6 separate regions of the Homo sapiens genome follow, and all the other regions are linked to region 1. Evidence: promoter capture Hi-C in 16 types of primary human blood cells and fetal thymus (Javierre and others, 2016). All regions are on one chromosome and are shown on one strand. Each heading gives the region's core, a stretch centred on a gene start or on the middle of the fragment in contact. The rest is flanking DNA. Distances are from core to core; before and after follow the strand shown. Region 1 holds the start of NSUN3 (NOP2/Sun RNA methyltransferase 3). Region 2 overlaps LNP1 (leukemia NUP98 fusion partner 1). Region 3 overlaps C3orf38 (chromosome 3 open reading frame 38). Region 4 has its middle 6.2 kb from the start of TBC1D23. Region 5 has its middle 3.6 kb from the start of SENP7. Region 6 holds the start of ZBTB11-AS1 (ZBTB11 antisense RNA 1).

Evidence for each region. Contacts are between HindIII fragments. The CHiCAGO score rates a contact against its expected background, and 5 or more counts as called.
Region 2: a contact is called between a fragment that was not itself captured here and the fragment with the promoter of NSUN3 in region 1, in 1 of 17 cell types (naive CD8 T cells). The highest score is 6.2, in naive CD8 T cells.
Region 3: a fragment that was not itself captured here is called in contact with the fragment with the promoter of NSUN3 in region 1 in 1 of 17 cell types (total CD8 T cells); the score reaches 5.8 in total CD8 T cells.
Region 4: a fragment that was not itself captured here is called in contact with the fragment with the promoter of NSUN3 in region 1 in 2 of 17 cell types (naive CD8 T cells and non-activated CD4 T cells); the score reaches 9.1 in naive CD8 T cells.
Region 5: a contact is called between a fragment that was not itself captured here and the fragment with the promoter of NSUN3 in region 1, in 1 of 17 cell types (fetal thymus). The highest score is 5.8, in fetal thymus.
Region 6: a contact is called between the fragment with the promoter of ZBTB11-AS1 here and the fragment with the promoter of NSUN3 in region 1, in 2 of 17 cell types (non-activated CD4 T cells and naive CD8 T cells). The highest score is 5.4, in non-activated CD4 T cells.

The regions. Positions count from the first base shown.
Region 1 is chr3:94,061,496-94,064,311 of GRCh38, reverse strand. NSUN3 (NOP2/Sun RNA methyltransferase 3) reads right to left here and starts at 1,251. Exons shown (of 6, transcript NM_022072.5): 1 at 1,174-1,251. The coding sequence starts at 1,185. It overlaps DHFR2 (dihydrofolate reductase 2), which reads left to right and starts at 1,396. Exons shown (of 2, transcript NM_176815.5): 1 at 1,396-1,566; 2 at 2,706-2,816. The coding sequence starts at 2,801. RefSeq lists an enhancer at 1,118-1,357. The HindIII fragment of the contact is 2,538 bases long and covers 1-2,391 here.
Region 2 is chr3:100,404,641-100,407,470 of GRCh38, reverse strand. The region is part of intron 1 of LNP1 (leukemia NUP98 fusion partner 1); the gene reads right to left. Among named protein-coding and RNA genes, the nearest start is that of LNP1, 4.5 kb to the right of the region's middle. The HindIII fragment of the contact is 5,109 bases long and covers 1-2,830 here.
Region 3 is chr3:88,156,482-88,159,181 of GRCh38, reverse strand. C3orf38 (chromosome 3 open reading frame 38) reads right to left here. Exons shown (of 3, transcript NM_173824.4): 3 at 1,217-2,700. The coding sequence ends at 2,547. Among named protein-coding and RNA genes, the nearest start is that of C3orf38, 7.9 kb to the right of the region's middle. The HindIII fragment of the contact is 1,968 bases long and covers 330-2,297 here.
Region 4 is chr3:100,253,397-100,256,096 of GRCh38, reverse strand. No RefSeq gene overlaps it. Among named protein-coding and RNA genes, the nearest start is that of TBC1D23, 6.2 kb to the left of the region's middle. The HindIII fragment of the contact is 4,896 bases long and covers 1-2,700 here.
Region 5 is chr3:101,515,336-101,518,239 of GRCh38, reverse strand. No RefSeq gene overlaps it. Among named protein-coding and RNA genes, the nearest start is that of SENP7, 3.6 kb to the right of the region's middle. RefSeq lists an enhancer at 1-63. The HindIII fragment of the contact is 2,009 bases long and covers 246-2,254 here.
Region 6 is chr3:101,675,139-101,677,838 of GRCh38, reverse strand. ZBTB11-AS1 (ZBTB11 antisense RNA 1) reads right to left here and starts at 1,409. Exons shown (of 1, transcript NR_024407.1): 1 at 1-1,409. It overlaps ZBTB11 (zinc finger and BTB domain containing 11), which reads left to right and starts at 707. Exons shown (of 11, transcript NM_014415.4): 1 at 707-1,234. The coding sequence starts at 925. LOC124906262 (endogenous retrovirus group K member 5 Gag polyprotein) reads right to left here and starts at 1,394. Exons shown (of 3, transcript XM_047449415.1): 1 at 1-1,394. RefSeq lists an enhancer at 1,015-1,569 and a silencer at 1,286-1,655. The HindIII fragment of the contact is 10,842 bases long and covers 1-2,692 here.

The sequences.
Region 1 (2,816 bases), core at 2-2,501:
AAGCAATACCTTACATGTACCAAAACTGTACATTATCTAATTATGAAAAAGCAAGGTTTTTCCAAATAATTATTTTCCAAATGTGAAGCAAAGGTTAAAACAGAATCTACTGGGGCTGAAGAAACTGTCAAAAGGAACAAAATTAATTTTAAAAAGTCACTGTAGGGGCTAGGCAGGTGGCTCACACCTGTAATCCCAGCACTGTGGGAGGCAGAGGCGGGAGGATCACATGAGGTCTGGAGTTCAAGACCAGGTTGGCCAACACGGGAAACCCGTCTCTACTAAAAATACAAAAATTAGCCGAGAGTAGTGGTGGGCGCCTGTAACCCCACCTACTCAGGGGGCTGAGGTGGGAGAATCGCTTGAACTCAGGAGGTGGAGGTTGCAGTGAGCCGAGATCGCGCCACTGTACTCCAGCTGGCTCATGCTTTGCAGGGACGAGGCGAGAGGATCATTTCCCAGTTCAAGACCAGACTGGAAAACATATCAAGGACGTGTCTCTACAAAAAGTAAAAAAAAAAAAAAAATTAGCCAGGCGTAGTGGCCTGCTCCTGTAGTCCTAGCTACTAGGGAGGCTGAGGCTGGAGGATCGCTTGAACCCAGGAGTTCAAGGTTACAGTGAGCTATGATGGAGCAGCTGCATTCCAGATTGGGTGACAGAGCAAGAACTTGTATCTAAACAAAACTAAAAAGTCACCGGGGATGCTGACATCAAGAAAAATTGGTGAAAGGTATTTGAGAACTCTGTACTATCTTTGCAACGTTATTTTAAAGTGAAAAGTTAATTTAGGGAGAAAAGTCACTCCAATTTCATCGTGAACTTCCTTGCAATTGTTTCATTTATTCATCCAAGAAACGTGTATTCAATGCCTACTATGTAACAGACACTGTTCTAAGCTCCCGGGATACCGCTGTGACACAGAAAACAAATCTCAGCCCTCCAAGAGCTGGAGGGAGTGGGTACTAGAAGTCTGCGAGCTGGACGGAAGGGACTCAGCATTACAGCACTCAGCATTATTTCAGGGCTTGACAGTAAAGCCAAAGAAACGCTGATCTCGCGAGGGGACGAACAAAGGTGATGTTCCCCCATCCCAGCACCCTCCCTCGCCACCTCGGCCGCGTCCAGAAGCGTCTCATTCAGATAGAGGTACCCAGCCGGGCCCCAGGTCTCACCTGGGTCAGCATTGTCCCGCTGAGAGCTTTCAAACAACAGGTGTACGCGAATCAGTATCAAAAAGCCTCCAGGGAACTGAAAAAAACAGTCTGACTTCCGGGATTCGCGGGCATCCACTTTCATTCTCACGTTTCCTCTTCAATTTCTCGCGAGATACTGATTTGCTCGCGCTATAGAATTCTTGTCGAAGAGGCTTAGCTCCCGCGGGAGATTTCGTGCGCAGTTACTTCCGGTAGCTGGTAAAGGCTGATACTTCCCAGGACGCGGAGGTAACGGGCCAGGGCCAAAGCGACTTTCGCTACTTGGATTGGTCGGCGTAGCTTTGGGCGGCCGGACCTTAGAAAGTCACACATCTGCGCGCCTGTGCGGCCCCTGCTTCTGCGGATGCTGAGGTGGGAGGATCGCTTGGGCAGAAGTTTGAGGTTGCAGTGACCCGTGATCGCGCCACTGCACTGCAGCGTGGGCGACAGAGCGAGGCTTTGTCTCAAAAATAAATAAAAAGTCGCATATTGTGCTGAACAGTGTGTATATGCATGGGGCTCAATAAAGGAATGAGTTTTGGGGTTATGTTGTATGATGACTGATTTAAAATATTCTCAAAGCGAAGCTAGTTACTGACTTAATCTACCAAATCTAGTGACCCCTGTTAACCTAGACATTCAGTACCCAAGGATAAAAGGGTGGAATATAATGAAAAAGAAATTAAGTCATGCTTTTCCCCAGACCTGGCCCATGGGGATAATCTCTCCTTTTAATGGAGAGTGTTAAACTGAAGTAGGCATGTAAAGCGGTTACAACAGTGATTAGGAAACAGTAAATGCCCAAATGTTAGCTGCTATTATTTTCACTATTGTGATCATTGTGATTTTTGTCGCGTTGATACCAAATGCGTGAAGACCAAAAGGACCCTCCACTCTAGCCTCCCCAATTCACCTTTACAAGGGAGCAATGTTTAATGGTTCTCCAAGGAAGATGTTTATTACACCTATTTTGACACGAATAGAAGTTTATTTGCTCTTTTGGTGTCATGCTTCAGTAACTATCATTTGTAGCAGCAATCAGCAATTAGAAAAAACCGGTTTGATATGGTCCCTGATAGTTAATAATCATCATTTTGAGTTGTTCCTTGATGCTCATATCAATATACGTACATGCTATAGGTACAAGTCTTATATTCATGTAAAAACATGTCTTTCCTTCTAATCTGATTTGAAGCTTAATATATTTATTTATTTAAACAAGTTTCCAAGTCACCTAAAAAATGCATCTTATTAGAATTTAGATTTGGTACAAAAGACTATGATAATCAGGAATGAAATGATGCCATCTCTTGGATGCCGTCTGTTTAATGTTTGTGGAAAAGTCGGTCTAACCTTTCAGCCTCTGTATTTTTTATAATTTTATAAATTTATATTTTATAAATATTTTATAAATTTATACTTTATAAATATATTTTATATAATTTATTTTTCTATGTTCATTCCAGAATGTTGCAATTAATTAATACAGTGGTATTGTATTTGCAATGTAGGCACGTAAAAAAATTTGAAGAAGGGAATTTCGCGGCATTCTTGGCCTGGCTTCCTGGCGTAGCCAGCAAGTTCGGAGGTGTTAACCGCTGCTGTCATGTTTCTTTTGCTAA
Region 2 (2,830 bases), core at 280-2,779, 6.3 Mb before region 1:
TCCAATATGCCTAGCAGCAGATTTCTCAACAGAAATCTTACAGGCCAGGGAAGAGTGGTATGATATAGTCAAAGTGCTAAAGGAAAAAAAAGACTGTCAATCAAGAATACTGTACTCAGCAAAACTGTCATTCAGAAATGAACATGAGATAAAGACTTTCCTAGTCACACAAAATCTGAGGGAGTTCATCACCACCAGACCTGTCTTACAAGAAATGCTAAAGGGTGTTCTTCAAGCTGAAAGGACACTAATGATAAACACAGAAACATCTGAAAGTATAAAACTCCCTGGCAAAAATACGTACATAGCTAAATTTAATTTATAATACTCTGATACTGTAATGGTAGCATTTAAATACTGTAATGAGGGTGTGTAAATCACGTATCTTTAGTAGGGCTAAAAGATAAAAGTATTAAAATTAATAACTACAGCAACTTGTTGATGGATATGCAATATAAAAATACTTAAATTGTGAAATTGAAAGCACAAAATATTGAGGAAAGGAAGTGGAGTTAAAGTGTAGTTTGCATGTGTATGTGTAAATAATCAAAGTTAACTTGTTATCAGTCTAAAATAACCTGTAATATCTATGTTTTTTGAAGCAAAAACCGACAATAGATACACTAAAAATAAAAATCAGCCAGGCGAAGTGGCTCATGCCTGTAATCCCAGCACTTTGGGAGGCTGAGGCAGGCGGATCATGAGGCCAGGAGTTTAAGACCAGCCTGGCCAACATGGCAAAACCCCGTCTCTACTAAAAATACAAAAATTAGCCAGGCATGGTGGCGGGCACCTGTAATTCCAGCTACTTGGGAGGCTGAGGCAGGAGAATCGCTTGAACCCGGGAGGCGGAGGTTGCAGTGAGCCGAGATCATGCCATTGCACTCCAGCCTGGGCAACAAGAGCAAGACTCCATCTCAAAAAATAAAAATAAAAAAATAAAAATCAAGCAATCAAAAACACCACCACAGACACATTTATAATGTTTAAACAAGTATCTGGGTATCCCATGGCCCAGTCAAATTGACACATGAAATTACCCATCACACCACCTATATTCTGGGCTCTGGCTGTACAAAATGAACAGTTTCTGTCCTCGTGGGGCTTACATCCTATTGAGGGGATCACACTATTTTTTTATTTTTCCCACAGACAAGTGTACACCTGAGAGGTTTTTTTTTTCTTGAGGCGGCATCTCACTCTGTCACCCAGGCTGGAGTATAATAGGGTAATCTCGGCTCACTGCAACCTCCGCCTCTGGGGTTCAAGCGATTCTCCTGCCTCAGCCTCCTGAGTAGCTGGGATTACAGGCATGTGCCACCATGCCCGGCTAATTTTTGTATTTTTAGTAGAGACAGGGTTTCACCATGTTGGTCAGCCTGATCTTGAACTCCTGACCTCAGGTGATCCACCCGCTTCGGCCTCCCAAAGTGTTGGGATTACAGGCACAAGCCACTGCACCCGGCCCACATAGGTAATTTCTAATAGTGCTAGGTGCTAATATCGTAGACCAAAGAAAGAGAAGAGGTGTATGAAGGGAGGCATGGGTGGGCAGAAATGTTGAACTTTATAGTGAAAGTGAAGAGGATTTAAAAGTCTTTCAGCTCAAGAGTGAAATTACAGTTATGCTATAGGAAGAGTAAATTGATATCAAGGTGCAGGGTGACACATAGAAGAGAGGCACTAGAGGCAGAGAAATTATCTGGGAAGCAAGCAAATATAGGATTTAGGCAAGATGAAGGAAATGAATAAAAGAGAAAAAAGAGGGGAATGTAATAGTATTAGGAGTTGAGGCCTTTGGGAAGTGATTAGATCATGAGGATGGAGCCCTTAAAAATAGGATGAGTGCCCCTATAAAAATGAGACTCCAGAGAACTTTCTTGCCCCTTTCCACTATTTGAGGACACAAACCAAATTTGCAGTCCTCAACCCAGAATAGGGCTCTTACAGAATTTGACCATGCTGGCACACTGATCTCAAACCCCCATCCTCAGGAATTGTGAGAAATAAATTTCTATAGTTTATTAGCTAAGTAGTTTTATGATATTTTTGTTATAGCAGCCTGTACTAAGATGGGAAGAAACTATTTATTGAGTATCTGTTATGTGTTATACATACTCTTAGGAGTTTTCACTTATATGAACTAAGAAGTGTCAGAATGGGTGAAAAAACTATAAGAAAGATATTACAACAAAGTTGAATTTGTTGAAGACTTCACAGCTGATTTTGTGTTTATGTGTGTATATAAATACAACAGCATAATCATTTGTGCTTGGGTAGGTAAGGATGAAAAAGAGAGAGGTCTAAAAAGGTCTATGGTTTCAAATATGAGTAACTGCTAAGGTAATAGTGGTATTATTAGAAAAAATGGATAACACAGGCTGGGTACAGTAGCTCATGCCTGTAATCCCAGCACTTTGAGAGGCCGAGGCGGGCGGATCACGAGGTCAGAAGATCGAGACCATCCTGGCTAACACGGTGAAACCCCGTCTCTACTAAAAATACAAAAAATTATCCAGGTGTGGTGGCGGGCGCCAGTAGTCCCAGCTACTCGGGAGGCTGAGACAAGAGAATCGCTTGAACCCAGGAGGCAGAGGTTGCAGTAAGCCGAGATCACACCACTGCACTCCAGCCTGGGCAACAGAGCGAAATTCCATCTTGGAAAAAAAAAAAAAAAAAGGATAACACAAAGAGAAAGAATGAGTGGGGAAAATGATGAGTTATATTTTTGACAAAAGTCAGGAATCCAAGCAAAACTGCTCAGTAAGTAGTAAGAAATATAGGGCTAGAGGTAAAAAGGGAAGCTATGCCAAAAGATATATAGACAGTG
Region 3 (2,700 bases), core at 64-2,563, 5.9 Mb after region 1:
AAAAATTTTAACAAAAAAGGATATTTACTATGTATGCCCTGTTATTAGGCTATGGCAAATTAGCCTACAGAAAGTAAAGGTCCAGATGGTCTCCCCAGTTTGACCACCCAATTATGATGAATTATCTGTAATGTATTCTTCTTTACAACTGACTCCAGACTTTCCAAATACCGGTTGGGTATATCAAAACAGAGAACTACAGCTGGTTTCTTTCTCCACCATTCCCTGGCATAAAAAGACTAATGGGGTTCAATCCTGCACAAGTAGAGTTCAATCCTGGCACTGTGCTTTTTGGCTGTTCTCACAAAAGGCTGATCAAGCTTCAAGCTTCACTAACAGACTTCAGTTCCTCTAGGTCTTTCTCCTCCAAATACTGTTTCTTCATACACTTCCCCTGTAATGTTTTCCAGGTAGCCTCAGGAATCTCAGGGTCTCTTACTGATCCTGGGCTTTTAAAGTCAGTATCTTTCTCCTCACAAATCTGAGTTATTTTGGGGGCCTAAAAGTTTCTGCGTATTCAAGTATGAAATTCAAAGAAACTATGTGACTGAAAAAGTAACACTGATGAGAAGAACCAAAGATAAACTCTAGAAGCGGAAAAGCCTTTTGTACACAGTATATAAGTTGTTTTTGCTCATTCGTTAATGCATTCACTCCAATATTAGGCTGTAGTGTGCCCATATCTAGGGATTCATGAAATAAACATGAAATAAAATAGCATTAATCCTCAAGAATCTCAAGACTATCAAAAAGATTTTACATTTTTAAGGTTGATTCAAAACTATGTGCAGAAATTGCAGCCTTATTTGTGCTTTACACGAACTCAAAAGTTTAATACTAAAGGTACCTAGAGGAAATCCCTGCCCTTTTTGAGTATCTCTAGTAACAAGAATGGTTTTTAATTTTATCCTTTACTTAGGATGTTTACCTATTACACTTTATAATGATATTTCAAACTTCAAACTAAGAAATAAAAGGTAACCCAGTTTTCAAAACTCAAGCAGAGGTATAGGATGGATAAAGATGGACTTGTGACCTGATTGTGTACCTTTATAAAAATATGAGAGGAAATTATTTTGCACACTATTTTCTTTATACTTAATTATATTACAATAACAGTGTAACTAGCAGTTATAAAATTTTCTTTGTTCTCGTTAAATGCCTAAAACTCTAAGAGCAACACAACTATAAATTAAATCTGAACGATACACTATTCTTATAGCAGACAAAAGGGATTTCCCTCCTTTATTAAGTTCTTATTTTAGGACATACCAATTCGTATTCCTCGTAAGAGGCATAGCATTAAAAAAACAAAGATGAGTTTCCAGGCTCCCATTTCCAAAATTCTTATCAGTCTCCCTAGATGATTATAGCAAAGGAAAAAGTAACATGTACAATACGTCATCACATTTCCCAATTGAGTTCTTTTCCAAATGGTAATTTTATAAATTAAAGTAACTAAGTAAATCCATGATCAGCAAACAGTTGCTAGGTGATGAAGAATTTAAACAAAGCATGTAAATAATTTGGCAACTCAACCATGTAACTCAAACCTAGTAACAGGTAAAAAACTAAATATTCTAAGTTATAATGTGGGAGTATATGTATACTTATGTATATGTGTATACACACATTATACATGCATGGGTTGTTTTGGGGTTTTTTTTGTCATCTCTGCCAAGATCAGCCAAGAGGAAGAACGGTAATTCGTTTAAAAGTTAGGAACTGGGCATACCTTTAAAATTTCAACAGCATATTTCCTTTATATTGTATTACAGTAACTGCTCTATAAAACTGTTGTCTGAAGCCTAGGTAAGAATAAAGTCTATTTCGAGAACAGCATTTATCACTGCCCAAAAACAGTAAGGAAAATGTTGCAGATTACAAAAGATATTTAGCTTGGACTACAGCTGATAACTTTGAAAAATGTTTCTCAAATCTTTAAAGAGGTAGTAAGTTTTTCTTCAACTGTTAAATTATTGGACTTTTTTGCAAAAAGAATGTTATTTAAATTTTCTAAAATGAGAACTTTGAGTTTACGTTAAACATCTCTAAAATATTTAATAGTTTTAAAAATATACTACAGTGAGATGCATTTGTAAAATACAATTATCCAGAGTTAGACAAAAGTAAACATGAAACTTAAAGAGGGGAAGCCTGGACCATTATTAATCCTTTCCCACATGAAAAGTGCAGATATTAGCAGAATATTCACTAAGTAAAAGGAAAATATTACCTGGTTTCTAAGGCACACAGTTAGCTGTAAGATCTAAAGTGGGATTTATTTGCATTAAGCTTTCAGAATACTTGCTGCAACTCGGGTAGAAATAGGTAAGTATTCACATGATATGTAAGTCTGTAGTCCAGAAAGGTATTTCAACTAAAATATGTCAATTTTCACATCTGAAATCATTCAGACATTACTGATATAGTATTTGGAAGAGTTTCTGTATAGAAGATTTTTTTCAGGCTGACAGTACTTAGCGCTTTAGAGGGTCAGGTAAACCCAGTTCTCTTTTGTTCAGCAATGTCTCATTTCCACTACCTCAAACTTGGTCCCCAGTTCCACTATCCGAAGCCTGCTTTACATTATGTCGTACTTCATTGGTACCACATACAGTGATTACATTATAAAAGGCCTCTAGATCACTTTGTTCAAATTTAACAGATGGTTTCGGTAATGTTCCAGGAGCAAGGGAA
Region 4 (2,700 bases), core at 186-2,685, 6.2 Mb before region 1:
AATAATGTTGCCATAAAAAACATTATTATTTTAAAAAGTATTAATATTTTCAAAGCATTTATTATTTTAAAAAGTATTAATATTTTCAAAGCATTCTGTGATAATCTGTCAGCAGAGAGAAAGCCCATTTGTCTTCAGCCTATTTGGTATGTACATGGTATGGTGGTACATGGTATGTATGTATATGAAAGCAAATGGACAAGGCCCTCCTGGACATTCCAGTCCCTTTCCACACCATGTTCTTCTTTCCCTTATACTGGTCTCCTCTGTGTTCTTTGAATAAGCCATACTCTTTCCCAACATGTGGCCTTTGCTGTCTCTTCTGTCTTGAAAGATCACCCAGCCCTGCACACCTTTGGGCCCCAACATATGTACACATAGCATCTAGTTACCTCCTACTCTTACTTCAGTGCTCAGCTCAGTTGTCTCTTCCTCAGAGAATGACAGCAAAGCCTTTTGGAATATAGCCGGTCCCTTTATCATATGTGTCTGTAGATACATAATATGTGAGTTGAATGGAGGAATCAAGAAGTTAAAAATGGGAAAGGAGAAGGAAAGCAGAGAGTAATGTAGACTTGAATAGTGTTCAGGTTTTAAAACATTTCTTCTTGATCTACATGGACATGTCTACCGGCTTCTCCTACTTTTAAGTTTACTTGTGGTTCTTTGTAAATGTTTCTTATGTGAGGCTATAAAGAATCCTAAAATCATGAATAGATTGTGAACTCCTTCATTCTCATCATACCACCTCACATTGGACAAGTTTCAGCAATCATTTATTGAGCACTTGAGTACAGACCAAGTTCTGTTCCAGGATTTAGAGGGAATGGTCTTATCTACCTCCCACCTTTCCTACATTTATCTCTTCTTTCTCTTTCTTAGCACAAGCTCAGCCCAGCACTATGTTTTTCAATCCTCTTAGCATTGGAATAATCCAAGGAACTTAAAAACATACACACATAAAACGATGTGGGAACGTCACCCCCGGGAATTCTGATTCTGCTGGTCTAGGGTCAGACACAAGCACAGGTGAGTTTTAAAAGTTTCTTAGGCAGTGCTAATGTGCAGGCAGCATTGAGGACCACTGGCCTAGACTAATCTTGAAATAGAAACTCGAACTGGAGAACTGCAGAACATCTGACTTCTGGAAATCAAAACTTGAGTGGTTCCAATGATACTTTTATTACAACTGATCTCTAAGATGGTGTCAGACCTGCAGAAGGTGCTAAAAAGGCTATAACTGATGCATTGCCCCTGAATTAAGGTTGATGACTTTGGACCTTGGTTGTAGGAAATAATGTGATTACTTGTACACCTGTTTCAGGGGCAGTCACTCACGGTGGAGGAAAGCAGACTAAATGCCTATGGGCACTTTTACCAACTTTTAGGTTCTGTTCTCTGACACTCATGTGTCTCAAAGACTTGAAACAAATACTATTTTATGAGTTTAATGCCTGGGTAACCTGAGGCCCTGAAAGGTTTAGGCTTTATTTTCTGGCACAGTGCAGTAGGCAGGACTCCCGACTCCCAAACTCCAGAGATTATCTCCAGTTGAGGGAACCATGAAGCAAGACGCCTGATTCCTAGCCTTAGCTCAGCCACTAGCCAGGTAGATGTGTGGCCCTGTTTAAGTTATCTCTGATATCGGGGCCTCAGTTTCCTCAGATGAGGTAAATTGAGCTAGATGGTCTATCCGGGCCCCCTTCAGCTTTAACAAGTGTCACTAGGTGGCACTCATGTAACTCCAGTGGGGAGCCATTGGAGCAAGTTGGCTGCCAAGCTCCTTATGTCCCTTAAACGACCCTGGGATCTGTCAGGGGCAGCTTAGAAAATAATGCAATTTTAGGAAGACTGTTTAGGAGTCTTTTTACCAAGAATAGCTTTTGAATCTGCGGACACCTGTTGTATTTTACCAGCTGCTTTCAAGTATTATGTACTTCTGGTTTTATATTCCTATCCTTTTACCATCTCAAATTTTAAAATATTGTATAGAAAACTATTTCTGTGGCTTAGCTACATTTGTAACATTGTCCAGACATACTGGTTTGTGTGACATAAACACATGAGGTATTCTTTTAGCAAGTACTGAAGTCTGCCAGCCATATGCCACTGCATCAGTAACTTTTAAGAGGAGAAAGATTCACTATCCCAATACTGGACTTCAAGCAAATGGGATTCTGCCCTGGGATGTGTCCCCACTGGATAGAGTCAGTCAGATATGGTTCTTGTTTAAAGACTTGCTCCCCAAACCTGGTTTGTCCTGGTGTCTGACATTGCTAGGGAGGTTTATTCTCACTCAGATTCATTTCAGAAATTCAGTTCTGCTCAATGTGGCTTCCGAATTCAACTCACAGGTAGGGGAATTGGGAGCCTCCATGATCCAATACTCAAGGATGGCCCTGTCTTCCGTTGTCAAAAGTCATCCAATTCACATGTCAGGTGCTTTTCCTTCAAGCAAGGGCCACAGGAGTTGCTCCTAAGGATTTATTAACAAAAATAAACATGGAAGAACTAAATTTGGGGCCTAATCCTGTAAGATCCAAGAAGAGATTTAAGAAGTTTCATATTGCCAATTCATTTTGGGAGTAAGAGGTGGACTTTTAATAAAGACTGCCTTCATTACCTGTCAATATAGGAGCCTTCGAGTTGCATACATTTCCTGGGTTGAATTATAATTACGACTTTCAGACCTAGGGGCAT
Region 5 (2,904 bases), core at 1-2,500, 7.5 Mb before region 1:
CCAACTGACGTATGTTTGCTTACTGTCTACTTCTCTCCATTAGAATGTAAGTTCTATGACAGCAGGAACAGGGACTTTGTTTTGTTCACTACTGTATCTCTAGTTCTTGGAATAGCGTCTGGTGCACAGTAGGCACTTAAATATTGTTAGAATTTTACAATTTTTTGCCAAGCACATAAAGAAGTAAAGCACACTTTAAAAGTCCTCTAGCAATATATTAATACATAAGAGAAAGATGCAAAGCTTTTGAAAAATTATAGAGACTTCTTTTATAATTCTAAACTTAATAAATGTCAAAGGTTTATTAATTATTCTTAAAGAATATTCCATCCATCAATTTATATATGCTTTGTCTTTTGCAAATAAAGATAAACCATCTCTCAAGCAAATTCAACATGGTTCATCAAAATAAAAAGGGAGAGAATCAAACAATTTTTATGCTTAATTTTCCAAAGACTGGATTAGAATAAGATAGTGTAGGGGAGGAAAAATAATTATTTCCTTAACCCTCATGAGTTCTTAGTTGGAATGAACCCTTGTAACAACAGAAAAACAAAGAAGTTTATTAATGCATGCAGCGCATATCACCTTAGAGAAACGTAAATGCGGAGTAACTCAAAACAGTGGCTTACAACTCTGGCTTATGTAAGTATCTTCAACGAAGAACAATAAATTTCTGGAGAGAAGAAAGAACAAAGGAAAGAGTTTTAGGCTTCCAAGGGTGAGAAACTGTGGGAATGTAAATCTACAGAAGGAAACTAATACAGTAAGGTTTGTTTGCAGATTCGTCTGGGGCTTTCTGGGCTGGTAAGAGCCTAGACAGAATTTATGTCCTGCCTTTTAGGCAGAAAAAGGAGAGAGCGAGCTTTCCCTCCTTAATTGCCTTCAGCTCAAAAATAATTTTTATATAAAAGAGGTATATTTTGGCCTGGCACAGTGGCTCACGCCTGTAATCCCAGCACTTTGGGAGTCTGAGGCAGGTGGATCACGAGGTCAGGGGTTCGAGACCAGCCTGGCCAACATGCTGAACCCTTGTCTCTACTAAAAATACAAAAATTAGCCAGGCATGGTGGCAGGTGCCTGTAATCTCAGCTACTCGGGAGGCTGAGGCAGGAGAATCACCTGAATCTGGGAGGCGGAGGTTGCAGTGAGCTGAGATCGTGCTATTGCACTCCAGCCTGGGCAATAAGAGCAAAACTCAGTCTCCGGGAAAAAAAAAAAAAGGCATATTTTGAGGTGACATTCTGGTTTCCTTCAATAGTTTACCTTCAAGAATAAGATTGTTAGAGCTAGAAGGGACCTTATTGATATTCTTAGCTAACATGTTTATTTTATAAATGGAGAAGTTGAGGCTTTCAAAGGTAAAGTGGCATGCCCAAAGTAACTGAGGCAGCCCAGGAGCCTGAGAGAAGATTTTTTTTCCCCTTTTTTGACTTTTATTTTAGGGTCGGGGGAATGTGCAAATGTGTTACAAGGGTAAATTTTGTGTCACTGGGGTTTGGTATACAAATGATTTCATTACCCAGGTAGCGAGCATAGTATCTGATAGGTAGTTTTACAACGCTCACCCTCCTCCCACTCCAAGATTAGTTTTTACCAAAGATTTAAAAATGCATAGTATTTGACTTTTTATTTCATTCATTTACCAAAAATTTAGTGAGGCCATTTGGTAGGCACTTTGTTTCCTATGTCAAGTACTCCAGTCGTTTTACGCAGAATAAAATTTTAAAAAAGGAGAACAGCATATACGCATTAAAGAAAATTTGAAATTAGGCTTTTCCAGTATCCTGGATTAGGTGGTGACACAGCTGTAATGACTTGTTCTAGGTGTGGTTATTTCTTAAAAAACAATTGTGAAAATATACATAACAAAATTTACCATTCTAACCATTTTTAAGTGTGCAGTTCAGAGGCATTACGTACATTCATATTGTTGTGTAACCATTACTGACATCCATCCACAGAATGCTTTTCATCTTACAAAACTGTAACTCTATACCCATTAAACAATAACTCCCCATTCTCCTCATCCTAGGCACTAGCAACCACCATTCTACTTTCGATCTCTCTGAATTTGACTTCTCTAGGTTAGGTGTGATTATCTTTAAAGAAGAGGGTGGGTGGGACACCAGAATCATAGATGCAAATAACTTTAATTAGCGTATTTGGATTTTTAAGGAACCCCTTTCCTTTCTAGGATCAAAAGTGGTTACATTTAACAATATTTACATTTTTCACAGGTGATTAGTAAGCTTTTATAAGAAGTAATTTTATAATCTGAGAAGTTAGGAAATCCCCTGGTTACAGAGTAATAATCTAATACAGTAATTATAATCCTTTTTTATATTTAGGAACAAGGTCCTTTTGTATATACCATGCCATTAAGAAGCACAGAATGGAGAATACTTTTACTCAGAATATTTAAAAATATCTAATGATACTTTTTTTTTTTTACAACGAGTAAGTTTTCATTTATTTTCATATTTAGGAAAGCAAAACAAAACAAAAAACCTCTAGAAAATATGTTTGAAAGAAAGAATACTGTTTTGGTACAAAAGCAGCACTATTTTTCTTTTCCCAACACAGAAAGCAATTATGCAGTTTTTTAGAAAAATAATAATGCCTGTATTACAATTCCATTTAGTAAATTGTAGAAAATAATAGTGGTTGTGAAATTATATCTGTAGAAATTTCAAAATAAGATGAAAGTACATAATGTCCCTCCTCACTGTTCACCTCTCCCTAGGGAACAAAAAAGTTGTATTTAATCCACCAGAGGCAAGGACACATAGAAAAAAGAATATTAGAGATAGGAAAAAGAAAAAAGCAGATGTCACTAAGTGTTGGTTTTACCAAATTGGAGTATGCAACAGAATCGTCTGGGAAGTTTATTTTTTATGTTTT
Region 6 (2,700 bases), core at 160-2,659, 7.6 Mb before region 1:
CACTGGGAGACGCAGCTCAAGTCCGCTCCCCTTCTTGCACCCTCATATATATTTGGTGCAAAATGGAGAACCTTTTCCCCTACGTTTGTGTAAAAATATATGTAAATAAAGCCTTAAAATAGTGTTACCGACCCCCTTTTCCACTCGCAATAACATTGACTATAAATGCTGATAATTCCAAAAGAATCTCGACTCTTCCTTGAGTAGTCTGGAGCTAGCAGGTGCAAGTTTAGAAACAATAACTCATCACTGAGGGAGGCACTGAAAATTTTATAACTGTTAACTGGAATCTAAATTTCCATGTAAATGGGCTGTCTCTGGTCCCGTGTCAAGAGACTAATATTTTTCCAGAAGCCTGAAAATATGCTTTTATGATGTTGGGAGTCTCAAACGTAAAAACGGACTCCTAACCCTCTGGATGTTTCGGCTGAACTCTCAACTGTCCACCAGCTCCCCCTACACGTGGCTCCTTAGAAAGCGTGGAAAAGGGAAAAATGAAAAGAGAAACTGCCAGGACTTAAGATGTCTGCTTAAAGACTCCCTCGAACTGCAGTGAAGGGTCCTACCCGCTTCCAAAATGTCCACCCGCATTCCTGACGTCACTGGATCGGCTCCATCAAGCCAGAAAACGAGAGTGCGCTCCAATCAGGGCTCAGTCCCCGCCCTTGCCTTGCGTCACTTCCGGTGGTGCAGCAGCCATTTTGTCAGTCGCCAGCGGATCCCGCGCGCTGGAGAAGTGCAGTTCCCCCTGGTTACCAACTCGCCCGCTTTTCCTTCGGACTAAGGGAGCCGTCGAAGAGCGCTCGCCAAAGGCGCAGCCGTTTCTCCCTACGGTGCCGCCGCTCCTCCTGCAGCCGCCCGTAGGTAGCGGGCCGTTTTCCTCACCTGTCCCTGACAGGCGCCCTCAGGGAGCCGCGGTCCGCGATGTCAAGCGAGGAAAGCTACCGGGCCATCCTGCGTTACCTGACGAACGAGCGCGAGCCGTATGCGCCGGGCACCGAGGGCAATGTCAAGCGTAAAATCCGAAAAGCTGCCGCCTGCTACGTGGTGCGCGGCGGGACTCTGTATTACCAGCGGCGGCAGCGGCACCGCAAGACCTTCGCGGAGCTGGAGGTGGTGCTGCAGCCGGAGCGACGCCGGGACCTCATCGAGGCGGCGCACCTGGGTCCCGGCGGCACTCACCACACCCGGCATCAGACCTGGCACTACTTGTCCAAGACGTACTGGTGGCGAGGTGAGACCTAGCCCGCGGCGAGGGGGCGGGCTGGCGACTCGTTGCCTGGGCAAGGCTCGCTGGCGAGGCCTATGCGTACCCACGAGTCGGAGGGTCTCGGACGCCTCTGGGCGGCGGAGCTGCTGCCAGGCGGAGCCGAGAGGGTGGGGGACGCGAAAGGAGCCGCACTTCCCACAGGAAGGAGGCCGGCGAAGCTGGGGGCGGGCCCTGGCCCTGGGTGGGACCAAGGGGGCTTCCCCGGAGGCCGGGCCAGCCGCGGGGAGGGGCCGGACGCCTGGGCTGCGCCAGGTCCGCCTCCTTGGGCGGCCCCTTGAGGCTGTAGGCCCCGGCCCTCTGGAGGTGGCGTGTGGCTCGCGGCAGTGGAGGCTGCGGGGTGCACGTTTTCGACTGTGCTGACGTTTGGAAGGGGGGACGAGTCACCCGAAGCCGGGTCTCCCGTTTCTTTAGTGCTGCGCTTGGGTTTTGGCGAGCGAGTATGAGCTGCTCTGGACACATTCGCTAGTGTTCCTCAAATTTTGCCGCTGCTGCGTAAATAAGGAATAATACAATTATTTGCAGAAGTGATAAGGAGTGATTGAGAAATCGCCTTGAGCGTTTTTTTTTAAGAACAAGAAGTAAATGTAAAAGATATCAGTTACTGTTTTTGTTGTTTGGTTTTGCGGGGGCGGGGTGTTTGAGTAGACACGGGTCTCGCCTCGTTCCCCAAGCTGGTCTCCATCTGGCCTCAAGCCATCCTCCCGCCTCGGCCTCCCAAAGTGTTGGGATTTCAGGCATGAGCCACGGCGCCCAGCTTGATATTCGTAACTCTGAATGTTTTAATAATCTTTCCCCTAATGATGTGAAAAACGCGTTTGGGAACTGTGTAGCATTGTATATACGCAGAAAAGGTACGATTACTGTGACTTTTTGATTGTCAAAAAATACAGCTCTGAAGTTACTTGACTCCTTGGGAACCAGTTGTAAGGGAGGATAGCAAGTGTCCTTGGCTTCTTAACCATCTTCACTCTCCACAGTTAATGAATATTCAAACTGTCAGAATTAGTTAATAGTTTATAGTCCCATTTAAGAAATTTTGTTAGGAACAGTGCTGTCACTCTCCAATATGGCTACAGAAAAGTTATTTCATTCAAATCTTGGTTACTTCGTCTGTGAATAACGAAATTACTGAATAGTTTCTAAAGTTCTTTTCGGTTTATAAACATCATCAAGTTTATTCGTTTACGAACTATTGGATAATCAAATTCTTCCATTTATTTTCCACTTTAAACCAATATCTGAATTAAATTCCTGTAAGGACAGACAAATGCGAAGATTAAATTATGAGGTAATGAAGTAATCAGTGCATTTTGTTTGGATGGGTTTGGGTAGACATTAGTTTGTTGAACAAATGTCTCAGATTTAATACTTCAGGATTTGTTAAAGATGATAATTGTAACTATAGGTAACATTGATCAAGCTTGTATATG